Linked DNA regions of Homo sapiens: region 2 is linked to region 1. Evidence: promoter capture Hi-C in human tissues and cell types (Jung and others, 2019). All regions are on one chromosome and are shown on one strand. Each heading gives the region's core, a stretch centred on a gene start or on the middle of the fragment in contact. The rest is flanking DNA. Distances are from core to core; before and after follow the strand shown. Region 1 holds the start of TOMM5 (translocase of outer mitochondrial membrane 5). Region 2 overlaps PAX5 (paired box 5).

Region 1 (2,635 bases), core at 94-2,593:
AAAAACCTCAAATATTTGCATTAATCCTATAGACTCATATTCTTTTTTCCCATTTTTTTCCAAAAAACTAATGACTCACTTCACCCTCTATACAAAGAAACAGAAATGAAGCAAAACTTTTTGGATTTCAAAGGTCAGCACTTTTGAAAGGGAAGGAACCCGGCCGCTGGTTCACGCCTGTAATCCCAGCACTTTGGGAGGCTGAGGCAGGTGGATCACCTGAGGTCAGGAGTTCGAGACCGGCCTGGCCAACATGGTTAAACACCCATCTCTACTAAAAATACAAAAATTAGCCGGGCGTGGTGGCGCGCGCCTGTAATCTCAGCTACTTGGGAGGCTGAGGTGGGAGAATGGCTTGAACTCGGGAGGCAGAGGTTGCAGTGAGCCAAGACTGCGCCACTGCACTCCAGCCTGGGCAACAGGGCGTGACTGTGTATCGAGGAAAAAAAAAAAAAAGAAAAGAAAAGAAAGGGAAGGAACCTGGTACTGAGTTAAGAGTTCTGGATTTTAGGTCAAGATCATTCACTGAATCGCTGAGTGACCTTTGGCCAGCCTTCCCAAGAAGGCTGTTTCTTCCTTCTAGAACTATGGTTCTGTTTCTCTGTTTCTCTGTCTGCAAAAACGAGGGAGTTCCTCTAGGGATAATTACTTGAGCTCTTTCAGCTCAAACATTCTTTTTTTTGAGATGGAGTCTTGCTCTGTCACTCAAGCTGGAGTGCAGTGTCGCGATCTCGGCTCACTGCAACCTCCGCCTCCTGGATTCAAGCAATCCTCCCACCTTAGCCTCCCGAGGAGCTGGGATTACAGGCGCCCGCCACCACGAACTCCTGACCCCAAATGATCCGCCCGCCTCGGCTTCACAAAGTGCTGGGTGGGATTACAGGTGTGAGCCAACGCGCCCGGCAGCTCAAACATTCTTCAAGCTGGGAGAACCAGGATGATTAAACACGCGCGCCGGCCACCACGTGCACTTCAGTGCCCGGACCCTGACCCGCAGACCTCAAACCGCGCATATGCCCGTCGCCTTCAACGCGCACCCTCCTTGCTCCCCGCTACCGTTCAGCTCAGTTCGAAGGCCCCGATGACCCCTTAGAGTTAAGGGGTGCCCGTCGGTGAGCTCCCCGCTGGTCTCACAGTCACAGCCCGGGAGACACTCACTGACTCGCAGGAGGGCCACGTAGATGAGAAAGTTCCGTATGGAGGAGATCACATCCTCGCGCATCTTCCGTTTCATCTCCTCCGGGTCCAGCTTCGGCGCGAGGCCCTCAATCCGGAACATCGCGGCTCTGACTTAGCAGCTTCCAGCCGCCGCGCTCTGCTCTCCACGGTGGCCGCCTCGCGCCCGGAACTCGGCCTATCCTCACTTCCTGTTCCCGCCCTCTCGTTGCCACACTCGACGATGGATGCCTGCACGGGACAATCCACGTCCTGACCCAGCTGATCTGAAGTGCGGTGTGAAGCGGGCGGCCGCAAGCTCAGCAACGCAGGCTCTGGTTTCTCCACGCTGTCTTTAATAACATCTGTCATACAAAAATCAGCCCGGCTCGGTGGCGCGTGCTTACAATCCCAGCTACTCGGGAGGCTGAGGCAGGAAAATCGCTTGAACCCAGGAGGGGGATGTTGCAGTTAGCCGAGATCGCGCCACTGCGCTCCAGCCTGGGCGACAGAGCGAGCGAGACTCCGTCTCAAAATAATAATAATAATAATAATAATAACAACAACAATAACATCTATCTTGAGCCTGGAGCGCTGCGCTGTAAAGTGCTTTTACGCGCTGGAGGGGGCTGTGCACATAGGTACCACTGTAAACAGTGATAACTAACATTTATTGAATATTCAATATAATTGTCCCCCGTGAATTCGATATTATAATCTTCGTTTCCTAGATTAGACAATTGAAGCACAGAGATCTTTAAAACATCTTGCCCAAATGTGCTTTAATTTTTATTTATTTTTTTATTGCTAATTGTGGTGGTTGAGACTGTTCTGGAACTCCTGGGTTCCAGGATCCAAGCGATCCTCCCGCCTCGGCCTCCCAAAGTGCTGGGATTACAGGCGTGAGCTATCGCGCCTGGCCCCCAAATGTGCTTAAAAATACCTCAGAGGGGGAAAAAAGTATTGAGAGAGATAAGTGATGTCAGCAAAATATTAAAAACTGCTGGTGACTAGTACTTCATTTTAGTTAATTATTCTAGTCTTTCTTGAGTATGTTTGAAACTTTACATAAGTTAAAACAAAGAGACAAAGATGAAACTTTTTTTTTTTTTTTTTTTTTTTTGGAGACAGAGTCTCGCTCTGCCGCCCAGGCTGGAGTGCAGTGGCGCAATTTCAGCTCACTGCAACCGCTGCTTCCCAGGTTCAAGTGATTCTCCTGCCTCAGCCTCCTGAGTAGCTGGGATTACGGTTGCGCAGCACCACGCCTGGCTAAATTTTGTATTTTTTGTAGAGACGCGGTTTCACCATGTTGGCCAGGCTGGTCTTGGAAACTCCTGATCTCAGGTGATCTGCCCACCTCGGCCCCCAAAAGTGCCGTGATTACAGGCATGAGCCACCGCACCTGGCCTTTTTACAGATTATTGAAGCACAGAGGTCTTTAAAATACTGTTAGCCAAGTAACACAATATGTATAAAGCAA
Region 2 (2,635 bases), core at 46-2,545, 570 kb before region 1:
AAATAAAACTCGTTTCCTTTTAACAAATGTCTTTAAAAGTGAAAAGAACAACTCCAATAAACTTATATCTCAGGGAATTTTGTTTTTAATCAGCAATCTAATTCAAGGGCTAAGGAATTTTTTAAAAATTTAACAGCACCTGCAGAGTACTGAGAAAAAAAAACAACCATTGCCTTGTTTAAAACCCTCCCTTTAAGAAGGTGAGGTTGACATGCAGACTTGACCACTGTACCTTCTCAAAGCACACAAAAGAAATGGGTCATAGCATCTTCTACACACAGCACATTCCACTCCACTGCACGGGGATTTGTTATAAAGGAGTTTCCCTGGAATTTTTACAATGTTTTGCAATTGACATATAGCTTTATTTTGGTCCAGGGAAAATAAAGAAACCTACAAAAGCCTCTGGATCCCAGGTTTTACAAGGGTCCTGGGATAGATTTTAAGTAAAAGGAGCCCGAGAAAGTGCCTCCTCCACCCTTCTCTTACATCAAGGTCCATCTGGAAGGACACAAGGACTCAAGTAAATGAAGAGCCAAACCAGTAAACACAGAGTGATCCGATGCAGCAACATCATTGACCTTATAGCTGTTAATTAGTCACTCACTGACGTTGCTGAAGACTGGAGCCCAAAGCCAAGTCAAAGCATTTATTGATGTTGCTGGCAGCTCAGAGGCAAAGGAAGGGGAAACTCCTCCTGAACCAAGACTGGACTAGGACTGGACCGTACAAGGGAAAGACCTCAAAGGTCTCACACACATATATACTCAACTCTAAAATATGAAATAGCCACCTCATCTCAGCTATTTCTCCCCAGTACTAAACTACAACCCAGGTTCATGAACCTCATCTGAAATAAAGGGAGCAAAAACCCCCATAATATAATGTATTTCCTAAAAACTGTCCAAGCAATCCACTCAAGTTTCCCATGAATATTTCCCAAAAACGTCCAGGCTCAGGCTTATTTCAAGGAAAAACACAATTTTATAGATAACTGAAGTACTTAGTTGCAGTTCTAAGCTGGATTTCTGATTTTCAAAATGATCTTTATTCAGTTTTGATTGTTCTAAAAGACATAAGAAAAAGGAAAACCATTCCAAATAGGATTTTGCAGTTAGAAACATAATTGCATAGTTTTTCTAAAACAGAAAGACTGCAGCCACCCTGGCCAAGAGCCTTCAGAAGGCTTTGTTCTGGGGCTGGGAACACCTATTTAAAAAGGTTGTACAGATCTTTCAAGAGCAGGCTGGATTTAAGTAAAAGAAAATAAATTCAAAATTGGTATAAGCTCATCTGGGAAAACAAAGGGCAGGCAAAGGAAGCTTAAACACCCAGCACACTTTTGATATGACCTGGGAGTCCAGGTATTATGGTCCATCTGCAATAGCCTGTTCTCTATGTCACTGACAATTGAGACTTTCTGCCCAAAACACAGTGGCAACCTTCAGAGGACTTAAATTCCAAAAGCAGTCCTGCAGGACATTTATGAGCACTGGGGGCTGTTTTGTATCATGGGAAAACCCTAAAGGTCTCCTAGAGCCAGGTCTCTCAAGGTGAGAGCAGGTCCCCAAACCCTCTACCCTTGACCACATAGGCTGAGATAGTAATGCTCTTTCACAATCTCATCTATAGGTCCACAGCTGACAACAGACTTGGGGTGACCTGGGAGCCTGTTACCTTCCTCAACTTCCTTGAAAGGTCCCCAAGACCCCTTGGCCTTCTCCACCATCACAATCCTACCCAATAGAGCTCTTAGAGGGTGGTGGTGAGAAGGTTTACAACTATGGTGTGAGGAAGGTCACTTACTCTGGAATTGGTAAGAAGTGAAGTCCAAAGTCTGAATGAGGCGAGGCAGGACAGGGAAAGAAAAGAGGAAAAAAGAGGTGTGTTAAGAGAAGTGTAAAGAGTGGGAACTGAATGAGACAGACAACCAGGAGAGAGAGAGCCTGGAAAGGAAGCAGCAGGTTAGGCAGGCAGAGGAGAGGGAAAAGGAATGGAGAAGCTAGAATAGGCCAAGAAAAGAAAGACGAAGGTGGCACACAACGGGAGGCAATAAGAAGAGAAAATGGAGGAAGCCCAGGAAGGGGCTTCTGGAGGACAGGGGACTTCTCTAGACAGAGGACCTTTGTTTTCTGGGGTGCCAGCTCTGGCCCTGCATCTTCTTGGAGAACCCAAGTCCCAGCCTGTACTTCCTATGGACTCCAGTTAGGTGAGGACTCATCCCGTGAAAGGGGGACTGACACAGAGACAGAGGCAAACAAATCAGGTGAAGACCAGGAAACAGACCCACAGATACAAGAAAAAGACAGACCACAGGACAGGGCAGACTGGGCAGTGTTTGGAGGGGAGTGAGGAGAGAAAGACTGAATTGCAGAGGCCCCTGAGGCCTTTGTGACTCTGGTATGGAAAGGGCTGGCCTCCACAGATGCTCCTCAGGCCCTGATAAGGTCATGCTACCCACCACAGGCCCTCCCAATACCCCCAAAGACCATGGCTGAGCATAGGATTTTGGGGAAAGGGACTTTGCTGACTCAGCCACAGATTGAGCTCCAGGACCCCCACAAGATCATTAAAATTTTTCCTAGATGCACCAGAAAGAATGAAGGGGTACACAGACAGGCAAACAGGGGCACAG

What was found. Contacts are between HindIII fragments. The study calls those that stand out against the background at their distance.
Region 2: a fragment that was not itself captured here is called in contact with the fragment with the promoter of TOMM5 in region 1 in 1 of the 25 tissues and cell types used here (mesenchymal stem cells).

What each region holds. Positions count from the first base shown.
Region 1 is chr9:37,591,254-37,593,888 of GRCh38, forward strand. It overlaps TOMM5 (translocase of outer mitochondrial membrane 5), which reads right to left and starts at 1,344. Exons shown (of 2, transcript NM_001001790.3): 1 at 1,159-1,344. The coding sequence starts at 1,279. RefSeq lists an enhancer at 941-1,700. The HindIII fragment of the contact is 28,692 bases long and covers 1-2,635 here.
Region 2 is chr9:37,021,201-37,023,835 of GRCh38, forward strand. All of the region lies in intron 1 of PAX5 (paired box 5), which reads right to left. Among named protein-coding and RNA genes, the nearest start is that of PAX5, 12 kb to the right of the region's middle. RefSeq lists a silencer at 1,588-1,637. The HindIII fragment of the contact is 4,288 bases long and covers 1-2,635 here.